Regions from separate parts of the Homo sapiens genome. Here region 2 is linked to region 1. The links are contacts of gene promoters, found by promoter capture Hi-C in human tissues and cell types (Jung and others, 2019). All regions are on one chromosome and are shown on one strand. Each heading gives the region's core, a stretch centred on a gene start or on the middle of the fragment in contact. The rest is flanking DNA. Distances are from core to core; before and after follow the strand shown.

Region 1 (6,717 bases), core at 1,545-4,044:
GGAATAGAAACTTAGCATTAGAATTCCATAATCTTAACTCACCAGTTAGGCTAACAACAACAACAACAACAACAAATTGCAAGCTCTACTGGCTTTAGATGTTGATCAATACTTATGAAGTCATGAAATGATTAATAAAGAATTTCCTTGTTTATAATCCTCATTAGGTTGTTTCTTAAAGCACCATAATTCTTGACTAAGCATTTTAAAATTCTAATGATAACACACAGTGATACGCAAATGTGATAAGAATTATCTTAAAAAATGTACTTAATATAAGAATCCCTCCTGTGTTCATAAAGCACTAAAATAATAATTCTAGAAACTAATAAATATAAATTTACAAAAATATATGGTCAATTTTAAGTGGCAAGTATGCTACTTATGTTTTCAATTTAAATTTAAATTTGCAGGTATCAAATTATGGCCATAATTGATAATGACAATTATATTTACAATATAAATGTCAAATATATTTCCCTACATGATATACACTTATGATGATACCCTCTCAATAGATAATTCTAATATGAAAAAAAAATATTTGCAAACATTTGGACAAATGTGACTTTCACATCCAACTCCATCAAATAATGTTTAATATTAATAGACTTAATTCTGGGGAGATATATTTGATCAATCATTTAATTTTACAATGGCCAAATGTATCTATGTAATTAAGTGCATGCATCTGAGTGCTGTCTGAAAGCATGTATACACATATGACCATGTGTTGCTTAGTATAGACTAAAACATAGATACATTTGTTCATGTGGGTAAAAGTTTTGGCTCATATTTGATCACTCTTATGTAATTCACTTATATATTTTCTAAGCAATAGTCAACATTCAATGCAAATAAAGAAACAGATTAATAACTGAGGCTTTTCCTTATATCTATGATGTTTTCCCTCTTGTGTTTTTCTGTTCTGAACTGTTCAAGTCACAGTATTTTCTAAAATTTCATTCTCTTGCAGAGCATCTTATAGAGACACCTAGTGGCAAAAGGTAATGGTGGCTTCCGGGACCATCCTTAATGTTGAGTTAATGGCAGAAAGTTTTCATCATTTACTTATTTGAACCACAAGAGGTAAACTAGATTATTAGCATAAGTGTTTCTAACAAAACTGTAACCTAAACTAATTCCAAACATATTTAATACTTCTTAGTTGAATAATATTTCCTTTAATTAGAACAATAAATATTTAAAATAAAAATAATACAAAACCATGAATTAAACTTTGCTATTGAATGAAATTATAAAGATTTAGAACAGTGATAAAATATAACAGCTTTATTTCAGCTATTTTGAAAAAATCAATAATCGATTAAGACAATTTAGGACCTTTAAGAACTTCTACAAAGTTAATCGATATTGAAAATTATGTTTCTGATAGGACTCAATATTTATATTCCAAAGGCTTCTGGCTGTAATTCCTATATAATTTTAAATTTAAATATTTCATTTCATTTTGAAAATATAAAAGTAATTTTAAACTTAAAATAAATTTTCTGAAATGTTTATATAATGTTAAAAGTTAATGACTGAATAAAAAATACAGAAATAAGCCTTTTGTGGATGACGTGTAAGTTATATTTGTTGATGCAATGTATCTACAGCTAGTGGCTATCATTCCTAGGTCAAATGCTTCTAAATTTAATGAAACGTTCATTACAAGATTTTGTTTTTATTGTCTGAAATTACATATTACTTCTTTCCTTCCTCTCCCTTGAATATAACCCATACTTAAACAAAATTGCTTCCAAATAAAGTTTTTATGGTATAAAGTAAAAATATATATATTCACACAACATACGCAGGGGAAAGTTCAAAAAAGATTGCAGTACCTCAGGAGACTGCAATGTTCATCACCTGAGATATATATACATCTCAGAACATAGACATATTATCAGACTCTATATCAATATTAAACATATGATTAACCAGATTATAACACAGTATTATCCCAAATATTACTAAGAATAAAACAATATCAATAATAATTAAGACGTAATTAATTGCAAAATAAAGTGGGTAAAATATATTTACATGGAGAAACTAACTACATAGTTATCAAAGGAACAGGCACATGTGCACTCAGCCTGCACTGGGTCACTTACTATTATCAACTTTTCTCTTATACCCGGGATGAACGGCAGGTCTAATATTACAAATATTGAAAACATGTCTTATGAAAGTAAAGACCCCTTTTTGGGGATGGAAGTGTCTGGTTTCATGGAAAGACCCAAGAATACTTACTGTAGAGATGACTCTAGTGGAGTTTAGCAGATGACTCTTCAAGAAACTCGCTTTCTATCGATATTGCATTTACTTAGGGGTTTTCCAGCTTTTTAGTACACACCAGATGTATTCACAAACATTCCCTCTGAAAGTCTTTCACATTCCCTTGTGTTGCCTAGACACACCTATAAAACGTAATTCTATTAAAGAGAAAAGAAAAGTAGCGCCCTTGTTTGCAGCTAGGAGGAACCACTCCCTTTTCCAGGATCCTTAACAGTAAGTACACGAGACAGCAGCATTCTGAATGGCAGGAGGAAGGCAGGCGATCAGCACAGGGCTGGAATCATCTGTTCCTGACCACCAGCAAGCCTGGCACTGCCGGGGTTATTTCCACTCCTCCCTTTCCCAATCCGAGAATTGCACAGTCCCACGCTCGAATTACACACATGGTCCAAGACTTCTCTCTCTTCCTACGAATGTGACATCCAAGGGGGCCCCGGTTGCGCCGCCCTAGCCCAGGGACGCCTTCGCCCTCGGCTGCCATCTATCGGCCACCGAGCGCCCGCTTCGCCCCGGGCCCATCATGTCTGCTGCAGCTTGGCTCGCACCAGAGGCGCGACAATAAACAAGTGCACTGGACTGGGCCCTGCACCCGCTCCGGAGCAGCTGTCTCAGAGACCCGGTGTTGCTTACCGCGTTGCCACCTCCTCGGCGCCCGGGAGGAAGACGCAACTTTCTCGGAGTTTTTTTTAGAGCCACCGGGCTGCCAGGACAAGCCACAGGCATAGAACGACGCGGTTGCTGCCCGCCCCCCCCTTCCCCCAGAAACCCCAAAGGATGTCGGTGATAGAGAGTTCCAACTAATGACGATTGTGCGCCGCATCTGGGGAAGGGATACAGAAAAAAACCCTGCAAACACCGTGAGGATGAAACTGCCAAAGGGATGCAAGAGCCTCTCAAATACTAATTAGGGGCCGCGGCGGCGGCGGGCTCGGCGCGGAGACAGCGTCGGCGGGATCCCAGCGCGGTGGTCGCCGCTGCGCTGGGGGGCGGAGGACAGCGCAGGAGCTGCAGCCGCCGCCTTCGCTGGAGCAGCCGAGGGGCCGGTGCCACCTTTGCTCGCCCCCTCACTACCATGTACAGTGTGCGCTGCAAGAAGAAGGCGGGAGATGCATGCACACCCCCGCGACCCGCTCCCTCTGGCTCGTCCCCCGGCGTGCGCCACTGACCAGGGGGGAATGTGGTGAAGACGGCGAGGAGGAGAGCCGAGGGGGGAGGGGAGGGCCGGCCGGCGCGAACCCAGGCCGGAGGGTGCGAGGAGCCAGAGGAGGCTGGAGGGGGCGGCGGCCACAGCTGGGTCGGAGAAAGTTGCCCCCTATGCAGATGGCAACTGTGAGTACCCCTGTGGGGGGGAGGGTGCAGCGAAGGCTGCCAGGGACCCCGCGATCGCGCCTTAACACGTATTGGAGCGAGTGTGCGAGTGATCATGAGTGTGAGCGGGTGCGAGCGCTCGGCGGGGCTGACCGTCACGTTGGCGGGGCCGGCGGGGCCAGGCAGTCTTCTCCGCGTCCCCCTCCTCCCGCTCCGTGCCTCCCCTCCCAGCAGCTCCCCCTCCCCGCCCCGCCCGGCTCCGGCTCCCGGCCCCTACCGCGAGGCGCCTCTCCAGCCGGACCTCCGCCGCCCCCTCCCGCCGCCTCCCTATCCCGCCGCTGCAGAACGCCCCCCGCTCTCCACCCCCCAACCCTGCTGCCCGCTCCGACTACCGCGGAGAGCACCGGGGAGAGCCTTTTGGGGAGCCCCGGAACCCGCGGTCGCCACCGCGGCGGCGGCCCCAGGCTGGAGGCGTCCGGGCGCCTCTTTCCTCCAGCCTCTGGGACTGCGCTGCTCGCAGTCTCCTCGCCCTGCCTGGGCTTGAGAAACCTAGTGCATACCCCAAAGAGGGTTTTTGTGTATGTGTGTGTTTTTAAAGGGTGGCTATGATGACTGGGCCTTGGAGATGTGAGACTGGGTAAGTCTATCGTTTACTTTGCAAAAGAGGTGTGTGTGTGTGTGTGTGTGTGTGTGTGTGTGTGTGTGTGTGTGTGTGTGTGTCTATGTGGCGGGGTGGTTTTCCTTCCCTCTCCTCCCTCCCCTTCTTCCTCCGTTTTCCCTTCCTTCTCTTTGGGGCGGGGTGGGGGAGGGGGAGCCTCGCGTCCTGGAACTCCGGGTGCTTCTGCCTGGGCTGCTGCTTGAGCAGCTGTGCCCGGAGCCTCCGGTGCGGCCTGGGTGCTGGGCTCCAGTCCGAGAGGCTCCATGCTGCTTACTGCAGGGACGTACAGGGCGGTGATCCAGTATCTAAATTCTTTGGGAGAAAATGAATAGTTCCCCCGCCCCCGCCCTCCAGGAAAAAAAAAAATCTGAGAATCTGAGAATGTTCAGCGCACCCGCGAATTTGCATCGGAGGTGCGTTTCCCCGTCAGAATGTCAGCCTCCCCAGGCTCATTCAACTTTATTTTCTCAAATTTTTGGTCTCCTTTGCTAGCAAGGAGGAGGGGGAAGGGAGTGGGTTGAGAGGAAGCTCTTCGACCCTTGCTAACTAGAACTGAATTAAAGTTGTAAACGCTGGAGTTTAATACTGGCTGGACTGAATTTGCAATGGGCTTTCAGATGGGGTGGGAGGTGAATGGGGGCGGGGAAGCACAGGGAGGGAGGGGGAGGGGACCCAACCTCGCTGAATGGATGTGCGGATTTGATCCAGCGGAGAACTGAAATTTCAAGGTAAACGTTTTGCTTTCACTGGGGTGGGGATGTTTTTGCCGCTTTTAAGCCGGGAGACGTTTACCGTTGCGTTGGGAGGTCGGGGATACTTGCGAGGTTTATGCACTGTGGTTCCAATTCATCTCGACACGTCTGGGTGGCCACACGTGAATGATTCGCAGGCACACTGATACATGTGCGTTTGAATGCAGGGGCGTTTAATAACGCGGGCTGGAGTCGACTTGGGGATCAGGAGCAAGGTCTCCAGGCTTGAACCCGCTGTCTCGGAAACATCTTGGCTTTAGTTTGGAGTTGCAATTCGATATTAGACTTCGGTAGTGAGGCAAAGGCAAGGTTGACCAGAGAAAAGGCATAGGTTCCTAGAGTCCAGCATTTCTATCAAATGTCCTCCACCCCATTAACCAACGCAGCATGCGCGCGCGCGCACACACAAACACACACACACACACACACACACACACACACACGCTCATTCCATTTATGTCCTTCCTTTAAGAGTGCTGCTGTTGATCAGAAGTAGGAAGTGGAAGGAAGCCTTCAAGGGGACAAAAAGAGAGCAAGAAAAAAAAGGGGGAGGGGGTCATATTGATTCCTGTGGGAGATGAAATTCGGATATTAAACAACTGACCTAAGTCGCTTACAGTTCTTCCTCCCACCTTTCTATTTTGCCTCTTAATCAGCCCAGGCGTCCTTTCCCTGAGATTAAAAAAAAGAGAGAGGGGAGCGTTAACAATTAAATGTAATAAGCAACTCCAAAGATGGGGATGCTGTCGAGGTGGTAGTTCCGTGCAAACCTTGCTATTACCGTTGCAAATAGACGCGGAGCCCAAGGTAAGGGAGGCTTTCGTGCTGATCCTTGGTGTACTGATTCCCGGTAAGCGGTAGGAACGTCCTTTTTAAACTCTAGGCATCGGGAGGTATTCGGAGATTGCGGATACCTTCGCTGAGTTCTTTGTAATCCATCGTGCAGAACTATTTCAGTGGCTTAAAGATGCGGTTTGGTAGCGTCGCTGACATGATCAATGAGAAGTGGTCGCAGGGCGCTCTCCGGGAAGCGCTGCTAAGTGGTACCGTGCATGCAATTAGGACGCTGATGTGCTTTAATAGCGTGGTAGTGAAGTCCACCATCAAAGCAAATGCGCTCTCCTTTTTTCTCCTTACTCAAAGCTCCGGGAGACAATTGGTGATTTAAGAGCTTCTTGGGGCTCCTTTGATGCATTATATTACAGCCTTTTTGCCTCTGAAAAGTATCCTTTAGGTTCCCACCGTGGCATTTCTAGCGATGGTTTAAAATACCCCAAGTATTTTGGCTCCTTGCCTCTCTGTGAACATGAGAGACCTTCACGGTGAACTGTTAACTGAAGAGGCTCTGAAAGAAAGAAGGGGGGGTGGGGGCTGGGTATAGGTGAGGTGGGGAACCTTGTAAAATGGTGCTTCTTTTTTCTTAAATTAGAACCATGAAACTGAACTGACAGCCATTTTATGTATATTTATGGATTGGTTTTGAAAAGGGGGGGAGAAGAGAAAACTAAAATGGGACTTTATCTAACCTGCTCTTATCTTGTAAGGAGCAGCATATTTGTGGTGTGCTCATTTAAAAAAATTAATCAACCTTTAAATCAAAATGTATAATAGATTTTAATAAAATCTAGAGAATGTCAATGTTTCACTTGGGGAGGTGTGTCATTTGTATCTCTTCCTTTTGGGTTTTAGAGTAAT
Region 2 (6,717 bases), core at 1,303-3,802, 91 kb before region 1:
TTCAGCCTCCACAACTATGAGAAATAAATTTTTGTCATTCAAGTCACCCAGCCTATTGTATTTTATTATGGCAGCCCAAGCTGATTAAGACATTATGCAAAGATCCAGTCGATAAATTAACAAATATAAGCAGAAACCATGAGGTGATAAGCGGCTTAAAATTTCAGTGGAACTAAAAGACTAAGGCTGCATTTTAACGGGTAAGAGAAAGAAAGAGTGATATGTGTTGGGATCTCATACAAAGGCAGCTGCCCTTCTCATACCTTGAACAACTAGGTAAACTCTTAGGAAAATGTCTGCAGTTCACATCCTGTGTGTATCCAAAACTCCCGTATTAAAATTCTTCTTTGGGAAAATTGTGATGTATGCATTATATAAGCCTAGGTAAATATTTTAGTGTCCACACCAAGGGAAAATATAAAAGGAAATTTAAGATCCATGTGTCAGATTACACTTCCAAGACAATGGCCAAAAGATCTTCCATCTTCCATGTTTTTATATGATGCTTACACTCCTCTCATTGAAAGAATGGGCTCTGTGTATCCTCTTGAATGTCTGGAATAGAAAGGAAGTGACATGCTATGATTTCCAAAATTAGGTCCTAAATAGGAATAAACCTTCTGGCTTCTGCTTGGTCCCCTTAGGATGCTTGTTACTGAAATTCAACTGTCATGATGTGAAGAAGCCCAAGTCACATGGAGACATGTGAGAGAAAAAACCTTTGAAATCATTCCAGGTGCAGACACCATTTCCCTGGAACCACAAGCAAGACTGAGTGAGAACCACTGAACTGAGAACAGCCAGCCCCTAGGAACACGGGGAAGAAGAGTTAAACAGTTACTGTTGTTTTAGTCCCCCAATTTTCTTGTGATTTTTTTTAGTGTAGTAGTAAGAAACTGGAATAATTCATATTAATTCCTTAGAAAATAAGTAATAACTAATTAGTAATATCGAATTTCATCCTGTGGTAAAATAAAATTAGGCTACCACAGGGTAAAGTTAGATATTAGGATCCTAGGATCCTAACATGGATCTTAGATCTTAATAGATCTTAGAATCCTATTAGATCTTAGAACCCAGACACTTTGTTTTCCTTCTTTGGTGGCCTGAAAGCAAAACTATTTTCAAATATTATTTTTAAAAATGTTCAGAAAGTTTTAGAGCTTTGATATTCTTTGGTAATAGTTAAACTTTTCTAATGTTGTTCAGAATTCCCTTAATCCTTTGTCTGATGCCAACATGCAGTGGAAATTTGTTGTAGCTCTTTAGCATCGCTACATAACTCAAGTGGGTTTACCTGTAATCATCTGCGATTGTATGCTACAATACACTGCTATCGATTACTTCATCCTGCTTTATGTACTATGCTTTTCTTTTGTATTGATTCTTCCCTTTGTATTGCTTTATATGCTTTAACATGATTTAGGCTTCTCATTTCCTTATTATCCTATACTCTGAATCACCATGTTACATATTATTCTCCAAGATTCAAATCATAAGTGTGAAAAAGGTGACAAAAATAAGCAGAATGTTTCTGACTTATTAAATGTAGGTTATTAAATAATGTTTTATAGTCAAAATGCTAGAAAGCTAATTTAAAAAGCAATATATATAAAATATTCAAGCCAAAAAATAGATGCTTAATTTACTGTAAAAAATAGGAGTTTCCCATAGGGTGATTGAAGTGTTTGGGGCTACAAAAATTTAACATCTTCTGGAACTTCTGAAATAATGGTGTAATTCCTTGGCTATACATTTTTTAAATTATGCAAATATAGATCATTGAAACCATATTGTGCTTCCTATTTCTCCTGGAAGACATACCTAATCATAGTGTATCTATGGCCTAAAATATATTCTCTCCTCCATGTAGAAATATACCAGAGAAATATAAGGCACTGAAAGCTATACAAAGCGATTTATAATCTGTTCTTCTCTACAGACTCACTCCAAGGAGAATGGAATATATAATCCCAATAAGGCTAAAATAAAGCTCCATATCAAACTTCAGTAATGACTACTCTGTATGTAACTAACAGACTAAAATTCAGATATGCCTGAAGTAAAATGAACTTAAGCTTAGGGAATATAAAAACATTGAATTCTAGTTAGAAACGTTCAAATGAAGAATATGAAAAATATTCTGCCACATTCCATTTCCCCACAGTAGTAGTTCTCAACCTTTTCATATATATTCATAGATTAAACGAAGGGAATTTTAAAATACCAATGCCTGAATTCCACTCCCTTAAGATTGTTTCAATCGGTGTAGGTGGAATGTGGATATCAATATTTTTAAAAACACTACATGTGATTTTAATACGCATTCAGAGATAAGAATTACAATTTCACATTATCATTGTTTCTCAAAATATAATCCATGAATCTAGGATTCAAAAATTTATTGTGAAAAAGAGGGTAGTGAGATCCATTTAAAAGTAAGCAAACTCCAAATAGAAAGCCACATATCTTTCTTTCATTCCCTCCCTTGCTGTGACGTCACTCTGGGTAAGATATAGTTCCTCATATCTTTGATTTACGGCTCTCATTCATGAACATAATATATGCCACATCCAAGCAAAAGTTTCATATGTGTGGTGTATTATGGTCTCTTGTCTCCTTTTATTCACCAGGAAGAGATCCTGCCCCAGGTTGATCTGTCCCTTCACTCAGGTCCAGGAATGAATGATGTATAAAAAGCAACTATATCCACATCTAATGGGTCTTCAGATCTGTGCTTGAAAAATTCATGTATATTATTTTGCACTACTATAATTTTGACTCTTAAAAATGTAGCATTATCATAGCAACAGTCAAACAAGAAAGAAATTTAAAGCTTCAGACTCAAGATTCCTAAAAATATACCCTAGTCCCTGTTATGAATCTTTCAAGAAAGGACCGTATCATGCAATTTTGCAAACTTCATTTTATTACAGAATCTTTTATTTTAGGGATTGCCCCAAAAAAACTTTTTTTCAACAACGGGAAAACATGAAATGAATTGTGACTAGTTAAAAAAAATACTGTATTTATGCAACTATATTACAATCATGTCTGACTTTTTAATAGTAACCAAAATATCTATCAAATTGGAAATAAGGCCTCTATATTCTTATTATAAACAAATGAGTAATAACTAATGCTTTTGTTAAAATAGGGGAAAATGTTGAGTACAGAATGGTAGAGATATGAGCATCAAAACGTCCATAGGCCAGATCTTGGGCTGCTGGTTCAAACCTCAATAAGGAAAAGACAAGTAATCTAAGTTTCAAAAAGTAACTTAACTGAGGCATCTTTTACATATCATATAATTCATCCATTTCAAGTGTAGAATTCAATGATATTTTAGTAAATTTACCAAGCTTTGAAACCATTGCCATAAATCAGTTTTTGAATGTTTCATCACTTCACTGAGATACTATATGCACATTAACTGTCGCTGTCCCTCTCCACAGTTCAAGTCATTCACCAGTCTATCTCTAAAGATTTGTCTTTTCTGGACATTTTGTATAAATGGAATCTTACAGTATGTGGTTTCTGGTACCTGGCTTCTTTCAGTGTGTATAAAACTATGAGGTTCATCCACATAGTAGTATGTATCTACAGTTTGTTCTTTTTTATAGCTAAGTGGTATTCTATCATATGGATAGATGGTTTTTTTTAATGCATTTATTCATTCATCCACCATTTATCAAGGGCCTTTTTCAGGCAAAGCTCTGAGCCAGGCATGGCACGCAACTAAAATATACACAAAAAAGTGTGTTTGTGCTTTCAAATAACTTAGGTAAGAAAATCAGGTACATAGCTTCATACATAAGAGTTCTCTAATTTTGTGAATTCATTCACCAGGTGACACATGATTAGATTGTTTCCACTGTAGGGCCAGTGTGTGTGGATATATGTTTTCATTTATCTTAGGTAGATAACTAACAGTAAATTTGCTGGATTGAGAAGTAGTGTAACTTTACAGTGTTTTCACCCCTTGGAAAACACAAACACTATATACAGAAAATAGCATGATAATGGCTATGATAGTATTACACATTAAATTTGATGGAAGCAAGATTGGGCTGGAGGAAAAAGTAACACGAATAGAAAGTGTGGATAGGTAAGGAAACAGAGTAAGGTTTTTCTAAATCAGTGATGACAAAAAGAGAAAAGACATAATTTTAAAACAGCATGATGAATACCTCAAAGAAAGGCGATACACCAAGAGATCAGGTAATGGGAGTTTGGCCTCTGCTCATGGTTATGCAGTTTGTAAAACTGGCCCAATTCCTGGAACTTAACAGAGGGCTGAATCTGGCCCAGAGAAGTAATATGTAATTCTCTTTCCTTTTCTCTTTTCTTTTTCTTTTCTTTCTCTTTCTTTTTTTTCTTTCTCTTTCTTTCTCTTTCTCTCTTCTTTCTTTGTTTCTTTCTTTTTCTTTTTTTCTTTCTTCTCTTTCTCTTTCTTCCTCTCTCTCTTCCTCCCTTCCCTTCCCTTTCCTTCCTCTCTTTTTCTTTTACTTTCCTTTCTTCTTTTTCTTTCCTTTCTTTTCTTTCTTTCTCTTTCTTTTTCTTTCTCTTTCTTTCCTTCCTTCCTTCCTTTCTTTCTCTCTTTCTTCTTTCTCTCTTTCTCTCTTTCTTTCTTTCTTTCTTTCTTTCTTTCCAAAAAGGTACTATCAAATATACCGATGTCTACTTGTGGCATCTTTTAAAAATCATCTGTTGAGGCTAAATGATACCTTTTTACAGATTTGCACAAGGATATTATATAGTTTAGCTGCGCTTCCTAGTCTAGAAAGATTTCTATGTCATTAAAAGGACTTTTAATGTTCTAATTTAATGCTTTCCACATTTATCCATGTCAAGCAATCTTCAGAAAGTTAGGAAGCTTGCATAATGCACTAAGGTAAGCACTAAGCTTTTCTTAGCTGAGGCACTACAGCAACCATGGGACCCTTGCTGTGGCCCTGAGAGGGGAGGACATCAATATCTAATCACACTTGTCACCCCTTTGTGAAGAATGTTGAATCAAGAAAGGGAGAGTCATTGATAGATAGGTTTTAAAAAATATTTCTCAGAAATTGAGTAGCATGTTCAGTTGAGGCACTCTGGCCACAGGCTAGAGGACAGGTATGAGTCTGGCAGGACATGAGAGAAGAAAAAGAATCAAGAGATTAAGCCAGCAATCCAGGAAAGACAATGATAAGCATCTGCCCTGAACAAAAGTGTGGGAAAGAAAAATAAAGACTGAATTTAAGAACCATTGAGGAGGAAAATCAGCATGGCTTAATGGAGAAAGAGAGTGTGGAATGATTCATAGTTTATTTATTTCATTTAATAGCTAAGTTTAGGAGGGACACCTTCACTGAGATATAAAATGGAGGAGAATAAAACACATTTGAAAGTATAGCTTGGATGATAAATATTACAATGCATAGTAAAAGAACACTGTGTCCATCAAGACAATTAAAATATTAATTTATGTGCAATTATAATTTAGGAATTCTAAAACATAAAAAATGGAGTCAATATTGTCTAGAATATTATGTATTACAGAGATAACACATTGAAATAAATTAGAATTTATTAATAATAAAAGAGGAAATAATCAGTACCTACGTATGGCATCCATGTATACATTGAATCATATTGGATACAGAGGCTAAATAGAAAAATTATAAAAATAGCACAATTCATACAAAAATACATGAAATGTATAGAGAGATATACAATACACACTCTTAACAAGAATTGATGGGTAATTTAAAGAGCTGGTTGAATAAAAAGAAGAAAATTTTAAACCAAATACTTTCAAAAATCTAATAAGAATAAAAATGGTAAACATTTGTAAAACACTTCGCTGTATCCTAAAGTCTCCCTCTAAACAAATGCACATAATCTTATATTGCAAGGCTAAAACACTGACCTTATTAACAAGACCATCTTTCTAAGACAACAGCCACAATGAAACTTCACAAAGTTTTGCTAAAGGTCATCTGGAAGAAGCATGTGGAAATACACAAAATATTTTTTCAAAAATAGATGACATGAGGTAAGATTACTTGCTCTTGTGAGTTATTTAAATACATGTACTATAACAATGTTCTTAATATATTAAATGATACTTTTCCATCCCAGGTATGAGTATGATAAAGAAGTGTAAAAACTAAAGTATTTACAAGTCTCTGTCTTTGAATCTTCAAAATCCAAAATTATCAGTAGCCAGGGGTAAAGGCTAGTATACAAAATCAATGACTGTACATCAGGTAATAATGTGTTGTTCAATTTCACCATATCATCCTTTGTGATATTTTTTAAACTATATACATCCCTTGGACTTAGCAACTGACATGGAGATGAATAAAATAAATCCTGGTTTTACTTAAGTAAATTACTGTGGAAAAATAAGGAAATAAAATAGAGTCCAATCTGGGCAAAATTGAGGTACTGGGGGAGAAAATAATTATTGGTATAAGTTACATGTGATATATTTTATTTATGTTTCCATGAGGATCTCTTTCCATTTCCATACCAAAGAGTCAGGCTACGGGGTCATTAAAAGCTCAACTTGTTTCTCTTCTTTCTCCATTTATGGTGGATCTGCTTCCTAGCTCATTTCCAACCTCGATGTGGAAACCGAGGCCCATGTTAGAGAGTTGGGCATCATTCATCCCTTTGCTTTGCACAACACTGTAATCTCCTTGTACCAGAACATGTGCTGAGCTTCTG

Evidence for each region. The method cuts DNA at HindIII sites, captures the fragments that hold promoters and counts their contacts. A contact is called where the count stands out against the background at its distance.
Region 2: a contact is called between a fragment that was not itself captured here and the fragment with the promoter of SLITRK5 in region 1, in 2 of the 25 tissues and cell types used here (heart left ventricle and heart right ventricle).

Annotation. Positions count from the first base shown.
Region 1 is chr13:87,668,577-87,675,293 of GRCh38, forward strand. SLITRK5 (SLIT and NTRK like family member 5) reads left to right here and starts at 2,795. Exons shown (of 2, transcript NM_001384609.1): 1 at 2,795-3,633. LOC124900338 (formin-like protein 5) reads right to left here and starts at 3,791. Exons shown (of 2, transcript XM_047430855.1): 1 at 2,260-3,791. The coding sequence starts at 3,729. The coding sequence ends at 3,205. It overlaps MIR4500HG (MIR4500 host gene), which reads right to left and starts at 2,387. Exons shown (of 6, transcript NR_033829.1): 1 at 2,260-2,387. RefSeq lists enhancers at 2,522-3,023, 5,448-6,647. The HindIII fragment of the contact is 26,915 bases long and covers 1-6,717 here.
Region 2 is chr13:87,578,168-87,584,884 of GRCh38, forward strand. All of the region lies in intron 1 of MIR4500HG (MIR4500 host gene), which reads right to left. Among named protein-coding and RNA genes, the nearest start is that of MIR4500, 37 kb to the right of the region's middle. The HindIII fragment of the contact is 3,134 bases long and covers 986-4,119 here.